4 separate regions of the Homo sapiens genome follow, and regions 2, 3 and 4 are each linked to region 1. The links are contacts of gene promoters, found by promoter capture Hi-C in blood cells and fetal thymus (Javierre and others, 2016). All regions are on one chromosome and are shown on one strand. The core of a region is centred on a gene start or on the middle of the fragment in contact, and the rest is flanking DNA. Distances in the headings are between cores, read along the strand shown.

Region 1 (3,229 bases), core at 276-2,775:
CCTGTGACTTAAAGGTTGGTGAAATTAATTGGGCAAATGACCCCGCTAGGAGAATTTGACAAGTCCATGACTTCAGAGTTTTACCCACGGGCTCTGCTTCATCAGCTGTCTCCAGAGGAGTGAGTGCGCTTCTGCAGAAGCCTCTGGAATGTCAGCTTCCTGGAACCTCGAGGATACGGGTGGGGAAGGAGCTGCTTACTGGGACACACTGGATTACCCTACCCCCTTGGTGTGTCTGCCGCCTCTGTGGATGTAAGCGGCAGGTGGCATCGGAAAGTCAGACCTGCCTGGGACACCAGAGAAAGACCCTAAGAGTCGGGGGAGAGGGAAAGGCTGCAGAAACATGAGAAAGTGCCACTCGTAGCGGAGAGGAAAGAAAACCTCAAGGATACGGTTCCCGAGCCTGAGCCCGCTCCCAGCCTTAGCCCCCCAACCCCAGGCTCCGTCCCAGGAGCAGTCGACGCCTCAAAGCGTACGGGACAGGAAGGGGGTGGGGGCGAGAGTCTTGGTTCCCCAGAACGAACGGATCCATAGCGGTTCCCGGTGCCGCAGGCCGCGCGCTTCTCCGACCCCAGCGCGGGGCCCTCGGGCGGGAATGAGCCGAGCCGGGACTTAGCGGCGGGTAGGGGGTTGGGTGGCGCGGGAGAGGGCGGCAGAAGGAGGGAGTTCGAAGAGAGTTGCCGCCAGGGAGAGTGGCAAGTGCCCGCGGTCTCCTTGGAGACGTGCTGGCCAATGGCAGAGGCGGAAGCTGTTTATGGGGGCGGAGCGTCGCCATGGCAGCAGGAGAAGCCTTTGGAGCGGCTACTTAATGCCGGTCCCGGGGCCGCGGTAGCTCAGAGAAGCGCCGTCGGGCGGGGGGGCGGCAAGAGGCGCTGGCAGGGCCCCCGAGCTGGGGGCAGAGAGCCGCAGGGGGTGGGAGCAACTTCTTCCAGAACCTTCCTCTGGCCCGGGCTGCGCTCTGAGCCAGGTAAGGGATGGGGAGGGCTGCAGGCCAGGGGGAAGGGTGGGCAACGGTACCAACCCGCTCTCTCATTCGTCCTTAACGGAAGTGGTGGGCCCAGGGACTGACATCGGAGAAGTCTGGGGGAAACTCGCCTCCTGCCCCCCGTTACTGTTCCGTCCCCTTCCTTCCCAATGATCCCCTATCATAATATTCCTTTTCAAGGATCAGAGGACCTCCACCGCCCCCGCCCCGTCGTACCGCCCTCCCAAACTTCTCGCCCCACTTCCATTTGTTGCGAGGAGGAAGGGGGTCCTGATTTCCTGCTCTTCGGGAGAAAAGGATAGCCTCGGATGCCCCTACCCTCTTCATTTGGCTAATAAAACCTCGAAGAGGAAAGGAAGAGGGAGGCAGATCTGATGGGGGTGGGACCCCAGGGCCTTGCTTCTGTTTCCCATACCTCGGCACTAAAAGATCCTCCCCAGCTGCGGGGATGATGTTAGAGAGGGCGTCCCCGTACACACACTGTCCCCTCGGGGGTGGGGTAGTGCTCAGCTCCCACCGTGGTCCTCGCAGGCACCACATACTTATTCGGAGGAGGCGCCCCCGGGGTCGCGAGATGGAAGCGCGCGTCCGGGAGGCCGTGTAACGGGAGCTGCGGGACTCAGCGGGCCAGAGAGCGCGGCGGGCCACCCCCGGCTCAGCCCGTGGATGCTGACCGCCCCCTCGGAGAGTCCCCGCAGACATGGCGGAGAGCTGGCTGCGCCTCTCGGGAGCCGGGCCGGCGGAGGAGGCCGGGCCGGAGGGCGGCCTGGAGGAGCCCGACGCCCTGGATGACAGCCTGACCAGCCTGCAGTGGCTGCAGGAATTCTCCATTCTCAACGCCAAGGCCCCCGCCCTGCCCCCGGGGGGCACCGACCCCCACGGCTACCACCAGGTGCCAGGTTCAGCGGCGCCCGGGTCCCCCCTGGCGGCCGACCCCGCCTGCCTGGGGCAGCCACACACGCCGGGCAAGCCCACGTCGTCGTGCACGTCGCGGAGCGCGCCCCCGGGGCTGCAGGCCCCACCCCCCGACGACGTGGACTACGCCACCAATCCGCACGTGAAGCCTCCCTACTCGTATGCCACGCTCATCTGCATGGCCATGCAGGCCAGCAAGGCCACCAAGATCACCCTGTCGGCCATCTACAAGTGGATCACGGACAACTTCTGCTACTTCCGCCACGCAGATCCCACCTGGCAGGTAGAGGAGGCACGGGCGGCGGCCGCTCCCTCCCCATTCCCTCCTCGCTCCCCACGCTGCACTGGATTCATATCCCAAATCTGCAGGCCAAGTAGGCTCTGCGGTGCGGCCAGCGCCCCAGAAGGGAGCCCTGCAAAGGAGCCCAGTTCTTGCAACTGCCCCTCCTTTGACTTCCAGAGAGAGAGAGAGAGAGAAGGGAGAATGTCCAGAGGTGGAGGGCTTTAGGGGTGCAGAGGCTGAGATTCAAGGGGAAATAACCTGCCATTCATCCAGCAGGCCCAGGCCAAAGACCAGGGCTAGACTCTGCGTGGACAGAATCTCCTTGGGGAGAGCGATGAACTGAAGGCGCATTCTTGTCCCAAGTCCTAGAATTCCTAGACACTGCCCTGCCCCGGGATGGTTTGTCGGGGCCGGGAGTCAGAAACGGAAACTGGAACGTGGCCTCCCTGCCAGGCTCTACGTCCTGCCCTTTTGCAGTTGGCTTGGGGAGGGTGGAATGGAAGGGGTGCCTTAGCATGTGAGGGCCAGGTGTGTCCCAATGGAGGGTGGAGGGGGTAAGGGGCCTTCCTAAAGCTGCTGTCCCAGCCCCCCACCTCAACCTCTGCTCAGTTTCCTGCCTCCAACCCCCGCTGTCAGCCAACCTCCCTGGGGGGACAATTACCTGAGCCAGGTGCCTTCCACTGGGGCTCTGCCTACCACACTCACTTCGTGTTCCACGTCTCTGGAACCAGGCACTGAGCAGCCAAGGGGCCCAGGCCACCATGTAAACATCCCAGCCTTGCTGCCGGGCATTATCCACCCACCTGCCCTGCCGTCCCAGCCCAGGACCCCTGTCCCCCAGCAGGCTTTGGACAAGATTAAGCACCTAAGAATGGACAAGGCAGGAGGATGGTGGATTTGAGGCTGGGTAGGCAGTGCCCTAAGAGTCTTCAGCCATCACCATCAAGGGCTAGTTGGAGTCAGGGGCCCCCCAAGGACGCCCAGACTCTTCCCTGAAGCACCCAAAGCGGGCAGGCCACAGGACCGCAGTCCCAAGCCATTTCCAA
Region 2 (3,229 bases), core at 394-2,893, 200 kb before region 1:
GTCTTGTACAATAACAATGACAATTTTACATAAGTCAACATGGAAAGGCACCTTCCCTGTTGAAAAAGGCACATAGGTATAAATGGGTACTTCTGAAAACCAGAACCCTCTCCTGAAGATGGTGAAGTTTCTTTATGTGTATTTGGTGTTGAGATAAAAGCCGCAAGTCTCTTCCCAGTGGTTCAGTTTAAGAGCATCAAAGCAAAAATATCATCACCTGGCATTTTCTCTGTCTCTTAAGCTGATAGGGATGGAAGAAGAAAGGAAAAATTTGGAAAAAAGACAGGTTGGATGTGTTGTTTTGTGTGGGTGTGCAGCCCATAAAGAAGGTTATTAGGTTTGTCACAATAAACTGGTTCTTTTTGTTGTTTTTTTGAGACGGAGGCTTGCTGTGTTGCCCAGGCTGGAGTGCAGTGGCGTGATCTCGGCTCACTGCAACCTCTGCCTCCCAGGTTCAAGCAATTCTCCTGCCTCAGCCTCCTGAGTAGCTGGGATTATAGGCGTGTGCCACCACAGCCAGCTGATTTTTGTATTTTTAGTAGAGACGGGGTTTCACAGTGTTGACCAGAATGGTCTCAAACTCCTGACCTCAGGTGATCCACCCGCCTTGGCCTCCCAAAGTGCTGAGATTATAGACGTGAGCCACCGTGCCCAGTCAATAAACTAGTTTTTGTAGTGCTTGAGTACTGGATACTTTAGTACCAACTAAAGAACACAGATAATTTAATTTAATTTAATTTTTTTTTTGAGACGAGTTTCTTTCTTGTTGCCCAGGCTGGAGTGCAGTGGTGTGACCTTGGCTCACTGCAACCTCCACTTTCCAGGTTCAAGTGATTCTCCTGCCTGAGCCTCCCGAGTAGCTGGGATTACTGGCATGTACCACCATGCCTGGCTAATTTTGTATTTTTAGTAGAGATGGGGTTTTACCATGTTGGCCAGGCTGGTTTTGAACCCCTGACCTCAGGTGATCCATCCACCTCGGCCTCCCAAAGTCCTGGGATTACAGGCATGAGCCACCATGCCTGGCCTAATTTTTTATTTTATTTTATATTTTATATTTTATTTTATTTATTTTTTGAGACGGAGTCTTGCTGTGTTGCCCAGGTTGGAGTGCAGTGGCACAATCTCGGCTTACTGCAACTTCTGCCTCCTGGGTTCAAGCAATTCTCCTGTCTCAGCTTCCTGAGTAGCTGGGATTACAGGTGCACACCACCACACCCAGCTAATTTTTGTATTTTTAGTAGAGATGGGGTTTCTCCATGTTGCCTAGGCTGGTCTCGAACTCCTGACCTTAGGTGATTCACCTGCCTCAGCCTCCCAGAATGTTAGGATTACAGGCATGAGCCACTGTGCCCGACCTGGTTTTTTAATATTATCTGCGGTTACATAGATGAAGGAATATCTTTTACAGGTTTTTCTGTTGTTGGGAGGAAGGGGGCATTGCCTAAAGTAATAAGGCTAATTTTAGGCAAACAGACCAAAGCTTAGACATTAAAATAAGCTTAGTTGCCTTCAGAGCTGTTGTTCTAAAATCACATAGATACCTTTTTTTGGTGCTGTTTTTGCTTGGAATAGCTTTGGAACTACTGCTTCCAAACTTGCAGCATATTTCTTTTGACTGTTCTAATAATAGCAACCTTTTGGTCGTTGAGGATAGGTTTAATTTTTGGAAATGGCAAAAAGCCATTCAGAACAAAATGATTATTTTGGGTAATTGAACTGTGCGATACTCAGAGATTTTCCAGATATACCAAGCAATGGAACTAAGTAAAATATGAAGCTTATGAAGTATATTTTAAAGGTTAATTTTTATGTTTATGTACAAGTTCTAGTGTGTTGATGTAAAGTAAGCAGACTCATTAAAATAACATTTACAGCTGGGCACGGTGGCTCACACCTGTAATCCCAGCACTTTGGGAGGCCGAGGCAGGTGGATCAGTTGGTCAGGAGTTTGAGACCAGACTAGCCAACATGGTGAAACCCCGTCTCTACTAAAAATACAAAAAATTAACCAGGCATGGTGGCAGGTGCCTGTAATCCCAGATATTCGGAAGGCTGAGGTGGGAGAATCGATTGAACCCGGAAGGCAGAGGTTGCAGTGAGCCAAGATGGTGCTACTGCACTCTCGCCTTCCAGCCTGGGTGACAGAGTGACTCAGTCTCAAAACAACAACAAAAAATTCCCAGCTGCTGCAGATGATTAATTGTTACAGTTGGGAGCAGGGTAAATTCTCCCCCATTACTTCCAGCTGTGGTGTGGTTTCTCTTTTTGCGAGCCTGGCTAGTTTAATGAATGCGTATACCATGCCTGTTTCCTCATCTCAGGTTAGTTTGTTGTTGTTGTTGTTGTTGTTGTTTTCCAATATGGAACACTTCACGAATTTGCGTGTCATCCTTGCACAGGGGCCATGCTAATCTTCTCTGTATCATTCCAATTTTAGTATATGTGCTGCTGAAGAGAGCACACCTCAGGTTAGTTTTTGCCTGTCCAAAATGCTAGAGCAGTAAGGGCTGGACTTAATATAGGATGTGGTTTTCTTAGGGGAAAGAAAAGTAGTTGGTTGTCTGGGCATGATGGCTCAAGCTGTACTCCCAGCACTTTGGGAGGCCAAGGCGGGAGGATTGCCTGAGCCCAGGAGTACAAGACCAGCTGGGCAACATGGTGAGACCTTTCTCTATTTAAAAAAAAGAAAGAAAAGTAGTTGGTAAAACAATTAAGAATGTCCTACTTAGAGATAAAGACTACAAGAGCTAGCCAGGGTGTACTTGCAACATTCTTAGGGAACAGATAAAGCAGAGACTGCCAGCCGATTTCCCTTCGCCCTGCTAGTTCACAAAGTAACTGCCTGGTGTCCAATTTGTCCGGTATCTCTCAGTGAATGGGTAAAGCCAATGTGACAAAGCCCCTTTTGTCACCTTTCTGACCAATAAGGGGTGAGGTATGGAGCTTTCTTTAGCGTTGGGCTGGAGGATGTTGAATCCCTTGGAAAAATGGAAAATAAAAACCTCATGGGAAATTGCTCTTTTTTTTTTTTTTTTTTTTTTTTTGAGATGGAGTTTCACTCTTGTTGCCCAGGCTGGAGTGCAATGGCATGATCTCGGCTCACCACAACCTCCACCTCCCAGGTTCAAGCTATTCTCCTGCCTCAGCCTCCTGAGTAACTGGGATTACAGGCATGCACCACCATGCCTGGCTAATTTTGTATTTTTAGTTGAGACGGGGGTTTCTC
Region 3 (3,229 bases), core at 532-3,031, 150 kb before region 1:
CAGCTCAGCATGGCCATGCTTTCTCTCTCTTTGACAGTCATGATTCAATGTATCCTGGTTATCGTGGCCCAGGGTATCTAAGTGCTGATCAGCATGGCCAGGAAGGTTTGGATCCAAATAGAACACGAGCCTCGGACCGACATGGAATTCCTGCCCAGAAGGCCCCAGGCCAAGATGTCACTCTTTTCAGGAGTCCAGACTCCGTCGACCGAGTCTTATCAGAAGGGAGCGAAGTCTCGAGTGAAGTCCTGAGTGAGCGACGCAATTCACTGCGTAGAATGAGTTCTAGTTTCCCCACGGCAGTGGAGACATTTCATCTGATGGGAGAGCTCAGTAGCCTCTATGTGGGGCTAAAGGAGAGTATGAAGGATCTGGATGAGGAGCAGGCCGGCCAAACCGACTTGGAGAAGATCCAGTTCCTGCTGGCACAGATGGGTGGGTGCCGCTTGCCGATAGAGGAGAAACCATTGTCTCTGTTTTCAGTTGGTTTCATCCTTTTCTTCCCCTGGCCTCAACTCCTGGCTGCTACACATCTCCCTGAGTCCCTGAAAACAGCATGTCATTCAGAGCATGTCCCACAGCCTTCAGAGTCCAAAAAAATGGGTGGGCAAAGGAGAGAACTAAGCCCCAGGAGAGGAGTGGAGCGGGTTCTTGTGGCTTTGTCAGGCTCTCTGCACAGCAGTGGGGGAAAGTGTCTGGTTATAGAGAGCAGTAGCATTGGGAGGTGGGCGGGAGAGAATGTTGAAGAATTAAACTTAACATTTTGACTGGGAGCAATGGCTCACACCTGTAATCCCAGCACCTTGGGAAGCAGAGCTGGGTGGATAGCTTGAGGCCGAGTTCGAGACCAGCCTAGGCAATGTGGCAAAACTCTATCTCTACCAAAAAAAACAAAAAAAAAATTAGCCAGGCGTGGTGGCACACACCTGTAGTCCCAGCTACTTGGGAAGCTGAGGTGGGAAGATTGTTGGAGCCAGGGAGGCAGAGGTTGCAGTGAGCTGTGATGGATCACTGCACTCCAGCCTGGGTGACAGAGCAAGACCCTGTCTCAAACAAAACAAAACTTAACATTTGCCTGTTCCCAACTCCAAGCCCAGAGAGTAATTAAGATTTTTTGCAGTGGTTGGAATTCGGGAGTCAGTTGTCCCAAAGCCCTTTAGGATGTCAGGCATTAGGTGGATGTTTCATGGGCTAAGGACAGCTCTCTCTCCCTTCTTCCCACCTCCCTTTCCCAGTCACCAGGAGACACAGGATAAAGTAATAGGTCCTGCTGTCCTCTAGGGTAGCTTCAGTGTTACAGGGGCTGGAAATGGAGATTGGGAGCCCACTAGAGATCTAACCCCTCTGATCATAAGGCTTCTGCTTTCCATAGTCAAAAGGACCATACCTCCTGAACTGCAGGAGCAGCTGAAGACCGTAAAGACGCTAGCCAAAGAAGTTTGGCAGGAGAAAGCAAAAGTAAGGAAGAGTCAACCCACTTTGTCTTTTTTTTTTTTTTGAGATGGAGTTTTGCTCTTGTCGCCCTGGCTGGAGTGCAGTGGCACCATCTCAGCTCACTCAACCTCCACCTCCCAGGTTCAAGCGATTCTCATGCCTCAGCCTCCCGAGTAGCTGGGATTACAGGCATGTGCCACCATGCCCGGCTAATTTTGTATTATTATTTGTATTATTATTAGTAGAGATGGGGTTTCTCCATGTTGGTCAGCCTGGTCTTGAACTCCCAACCTCAGATGATCTGCCTACCTTGACCTCCCAAAGTGCTGGGATTACAGGCGTGAGCCACCGTGCCCAGCCCCCACTTTGTCTTTTAATGCTAATAATAGCACTTTCCATTTGTATTTTACGGATTAAATAGCTCTTTCTTTTACATTATTATCTAATTGGATCTTTGCAATCTTATCAGATAGGAACTGCACCTTGGGTATCATCGTGTTCATTTCCTGGATCTAAAACCTGATGCTCAGGCTGGGCACGCTGGCTCATGCCTATAATCCCAGCACTTTGGGAGGCCAAGGCAGGAGGATCACTTGAGCCCGGGAGCTCGAGACCAGCCTGGGCAACATAGCAAGGACTTATCTCTACAAAAAATTTAAAAATTAGCCAGACATGGTGGTGCATGCCTGTAGTCTCAGCTACTTGGGAGGCTGAGGCAGGAGGATCACTTGAGCCTGAGTTTGAGGCTGCAGTAAGCTATGATCACGCCATGGCACTCTAGCCTGAGTGACAGGGCAAGACCCTGTCTCTAAAAAAATTTTTTTTAAAAACTGATGCTCAAAGCTATTATGATTCAGCTGAGCCAAATAATGAGGGCTTTGCTCTTTTCTTTTTTTCTTTTTTTTTTTTTTTGAGACACAGTCTCACTCTGTCGCCAAGGCTGGAGTACAGTGGCGCAATCTCGGCTCACTGCAAGCTCCACCTCCCAGGTTCACGCCATTTTCCTGCCTCAGCCTCCCAAGTAGCTGGGACTACAGGTGCTCGCCACCACGCCCGGCTAATTTTTTGTATTTTTAGTAGAGATGGGGTTTCACCGTGTTAGCCAGGATGGTCTCGATTTCCTGACCTTGTGATCTGCCTGCCTCGGCCTCCCAAAGTGCTGGGATTACAGGCGTGAGCCACCACACCCGGCCTTGCTCTTTTCATTATCTGTGGCAGCCTTGGAGTCCAGTTTGTGGATTTTCTGGGGCCAGAGGTCATTGCAAGGGACGGCCAGATCCCTTCAGACATTCTCCTTTTTTTTTTTAAATTGAGACGGAGTCTCGCTCTGTTGCCCAGGCTAGAGTGCAATGATGCGATCTCGGCTCACTGCAACCTCTGCCCCCTGGGTTCAAGCTATTCTCATGCCTCAGCCTCCCAAGTAGCTGGGATTACAGGCATGCATGTTCATGCCCAGCTAATTTTAGTATTTTTAGTAGAGACAGGGTTTCACCATGTTGGTCAGGCTTGTCTGGAACTCCTGACCTCAGGTGATCCTCCCACCTCAGCCTCCCAAAGTGCTGGGATTACAGGTGTGATCCACCACGCCCGGCCCAGTCATTCCTTTTTTTTTTTTTTTTTTTTTTTTTTTTTAAGACTGATTCTTGCTCTGTTGCCCAGGCTGGAGTGCAGTGGCACAATCTCGCCTCACTGCAACCTCTGCCTCCTAGGTTCAAATGATTCTCGTGTCTCAGCCTCCTGAGTAGCTGGGATTACAGGCGCCAGCCACCACGCCCAGCTGATTTTTGTATTTTTT
Region 4 (3,229 bases), core at 389-2,888, 130 kb before region 1:
TGGCCTGCTCTTCAGAGACCCTGGGAGTCTTCATGTGATGATGTCATGCTCAGAGCTGGACAGAAGAGAGGAGCTGCTCAGACAGCGGAGCCCCGGGCGGGCACCCCTGGGCCCCAGCCCCTTTCTCCCCGGGCAGGAGGCAGAGGCAGGGCCACCCCTCCCAGGCTCCAGCTGGGCTCCTGTTGCTCTCGGCCCCACCCTGGCTGTGAAATGTCAGAAGGTGGCTCAGTTTCCCGGGTCTAGAAGCCAAATTCACCAGCTTGGCAGGGAGGTGCAGCCCAGCCCTCCTCACCCAGGCCTTCCCCACGCCCACAGAAGGTCCCAGAGCGACATTCCCTAAGCCGGCCAGGGCAACCCCCGACCATTCCCGCACCTGGGCATGGCCCACACCTGGGTGGACCCCGGTGCAGGCCCAGGAGGCCTGGGGACGTCACAGCCTAACCACCCACGTGCTGAGAGGGGCTGCCCCTTCCAGCCTGGGAAAGCACAGGTGGGCAGGGGCGGGGGGAGGGGGAGGAGTCTCAGGGGTTTCCAACCAGGAAACAAAACTGAAAGGACGAACCCAGCTTCCAAGCACGTCCGTGTCACACGCAGGGGTGGAGGGGCAGCGGGGCCCACCGTTCCGCTCCACTGGAGGAGGGGCTGCCCCACCGTGTGAGGGGCCCGAGGAGGCCCGGAGGCAGGATGCGGTGGGTGCCGGGCCCGGCCCCTCTCGACTTTTATTTCACTTCCGGCCTGAACCTCCAGAACCCTTGTCCTGCCTGTGTTCCAGCAAGACTTGGGCCCCGTAGACCCCAGCAGAGGGCGAGGCAGGAGGACGGGACAGGAAGGGGCTGCCCAGACTGTATGGCGGTGAAGGGCAGGGCTGGAGGAGGAATCCCAGCCACGCGGCCATCACCCCCATCAGCCAGGTGGACAGGCTCCCCACGCAGCTGACCTCCCGAGCAGCAGGACCACCTGAGGACGAGCTGCTGGGTCAGGAACTGGTAACCTCGCCCCATGCTGACGCCTGCAGGGCTGCGGGGAAGGGGGAATGGAAGCAGGCCCCTCTGGGGACCCGCCAGCCTTAATTGAACTTTGGGTCATGGCCACTCCACAGGCCATGACCCAAAGGGACATACTGCCCCCGGGAAGCTGAGGAGAGGAGTATCGGAGATGAGCCCAGCTGGAAGATGCTTCCTGGGAGGGCCTGGGGGGGCCATCAGGAGGCCCCCAGCTAGAAGGAAGCTCTCCCCACTGTAGATGAAAATGGCTTCCAGCTCTTCTCACTAGGGCTCTGTGGGTGGGGGCTACACCGATGGGGCCAAGAAGGGAAGGTCACAGAAACTCAGGACGGACCCCGGCCCCTCTCTCCTCCCCACACCAACCTGGACCTTGCTGTCAGAGCCCCTGGTGTGACCATCCCACAGCAAAAACATCCAGACCAGCCCAGTGGCAAGGGACCCCCACCACCCCTCTTCTGAGGAGACCGCTTTTCCCACCAACGGAAATAAAAGCACCGCAAACCAGGGAAGTTAGAAAAGTCTCTTTTTAAGTTTTTAAATTAAAATTTCGCCCTGGTGAGATGGGATTCTGATTCGGGAACTAAACCCAAAGGCAGGCTCTCCACTTTGGACCTGGACACGCAGCGGGAGGGGCAGGGCGCCCAGGGCAGTCAAGTCCCCTGCTGGGCAGAGCCTGGCCTTTGACCAAAGTCAGCTCCTCAGTGCCACATCAGCCCTGCACATTCAGCAGGAGACAGGGGTGATGAGCTATGGGGCCACAACCAGCAATCAGAGGTGGGGAAGAGGCCATGGGGAGAGAGCCCTGATACCAAGAGGGCCTTCCACAGCTTTGACCTCAGGCCCTCCTGGGACCTGCAGCTGCTATGTGGCTGCCCAGTGACTGCAGGAGTGGTGTCCTCTTCCAGATTCCAGAAGGCATGGCTGTTAAAGGAGGCAGCTGACAGATGCCTTGTGCCCACAACATCACTCCATCAGCTCTGCAGCATGGCAGCCCTACCCCCGAGCACCCCAGGTGTGCCAGGCCCATTCTCACGCACATTAGTTATATTTATCTATTCATATATATTATAGTTATATATTAAAAACAGAGGAAAAACTTGCCTGAAAAACTCCTGAAGGACCCACGTGGCCCAGGAAGTTTACTGTCCCCCCGACCCACAAAAATTCTTTTATAAAATCTTCCAGTGCGATCTTCGGGAAACCCCCTGCCCTCCCCGGCTCCCCCCTCCCTGGCCCTCCTGTGTCCCCACAACCCTGGGCTGCCCCCAGCTCCAGCCCAGCGCCCGGCGGCGTCCAGTCTCATCTCTGGCCGTCCATGGCCGCCATGGCTTTCTGCTGGGCGCCCCCCTGCTGTGCTCCTGGGGGCCACGTGGGCTGTGGGCGGTGGAGGTGGTGGAAGGTGGTGGGGGAGGAGGGCGGGATCCAGGGCGCCTGGTGGCTGGGCGGGGACGAGGCCCAGAAGGGGCTGAAGTTTGCAGGTGGGGAGCAGGCTGCGGCTGTCATGGGGCTGTTGCTGCTCTGCAGGCCCTCGGAGGCGCGGAGCTTGGAGAACATGGCCAGCGCATCGGGGAAGTTGGGCGGCGTGGCAGGGGTGTTGCTGGGAGTGCACATCTGCGGGAGAGAACACGGGTGTGGGGAGGCTGCCTCGGGGGTCCCCGAGCCACTGGATGGGGCTTACCCAGGCCAGCCGCTCCTTTACTCCCATTTTTCAGCTTCATTCATTTTCGCACAAGCAGCTTCCACAGGACAAAAGTGCCCTCTCCCCGAGGCAATACAAACAGAAAACAAGGACAAAACCCAAGAACCTTATCAAAACCAACGGGGTTTCATGAGGCCTGGAAATGACACCCCGAGGAGCATTCAAAGTAAATGGTTAATTGCACCCAGGAGCTAAGGTGTCAGATTAAAGTGAAAGGGCAAGGGGGCAGCCCAGGACACCACTGTTCCGCACCTTCCCTGGGCAGGGAGACCAGCTGACTGCCCCACCAGCCACCCTCAGATGCTCCCAGGCTGCTAGGCAAGGGAGAGCGGCCAGCGGGGAGGCTCTCCCTCCTGTGCCAACCCTGGAAAAGTTAAGCCACCTTGGTGGATGGGTTCACACCACACTAAGGGTGACAGCCACCAGGCCTTGAAGGCTTTGCCTCCCTTAACAATGACACTTAGTGGCTTCAATTATCCTCTCTTTATGACAAATGAGGAAACTGAGGCCCAGAAGTCAAGTCACT

The links. The method cuts DNA at HindIII sites, captures the fragments that hold promoters and counts their contacts. A CHiCAGO score of 5 or more calls a contact.
Region 2: a contact is called between a fragment that was not itself captured here and the fragment with the promoter of RNF157-AS1 in region 1, in 5 of 17 cell types (M1 macrophages, total B cells, M2 macrophages and 2 more). The highest score is 6.0, in M1 macrophages.
Region 3: a fragment that was not itself captured here is called in contact with the fragment with the promoter of RNF157-AS1 in region 1 in 16 of 17 cell types (activated CD4 T cells, M1 macrophages, M0 macrophages and 13 more); the score reaches 14.8 in activated CD4 T cells.
Region 4: a contact is called between a fragment that was not itself captured here and the fragment with the promoter of RNF157-AS1 in region 1, in 7 of 17 cell types (non-activated CD4 T cells, naive CD4 T cells, naive CD8 T cells and 4 more). The highest score is 13.5, in non-activated CD4 T cells.

The regions. Positions count from the first base shown.
Region 1 is chr17:76,138,852-76,142,080 of GRCh38, reverse strand. It overlaps RNF157-AS1 (RNF157 antisense RNA 1), which reads right to left and starts at 1,525. Exons shown (of 8, transcript NR_040017.1): 1 at 1,401-1,525. FOXJ1 (forkhead box J1) reads left to right here and starts at 836. Exons shown (of 3, transcript NM_001454.4): 1 at 836-967; 2 at 1,517-2,183. The coding sequence starts at 1,686. RefSeq lists silencers at 841-1,000, 1,679-1,748, 1,809-1,998 and an enhancer at 2,410-3,069. The HindIII fragment of the contact is 14,991 bases long and covers 1-3,229 here.
Region 2 is chr17:76,336,551-76,339,779 of GRCh38, reverse strand. The region is part of intron 3 of PRPSAP1 (phosphoribosyl pyrophosphate synthetase associated protein 1); the gene reads left to right. It also overlaps the pseudogene RNU6-24P. Among named protein-coding and RNA genes, the nearest start is that of PRPSAP1, 16 kb to the left of the region's middle. The HindIII fragment of the contact is 279 bases long and covers 1,504-1,782 here.
Region 3 is chr17:76,288,221-76,291,449 of GRCh38, reverse strand. It overlaps QRICH2 (glutamine rich 2), which reads left to right. Exons shown (of 19, transcript NM_001388453.1): 4 at 1-435; 5 at 1,373-1,458. Among named protein-coding and RNA genes, the nearest start is that of QRICH2, 18 kb to the left of the region's middle. The HindIII fragment of the contact is 4,189 bases long and covers 1-3,229 here.
Region 4 is chr17:76,269,580-76,272,808 of GRCh38, reverse strand. It overlaps UBALD2 (UBA like domain containing 2), which reads right to left. Exons shown (of 3, transcript NM_182565.4): 3 at 1,511-2,615. The coding sequence ends at 2,304. Among named protein-coding and RNA genes, the nearest start is that of UBALD2, 5.8 kb to the right of the region's middle. RefSeq lists silencers at 89-228, 669-768 and enhancers at 1-346, 469-518, 347-871, 1,459-1,678, 2,559-2,748. The HindIII fragment of the contact is 5,749 bases long and covers 1-3,229 here.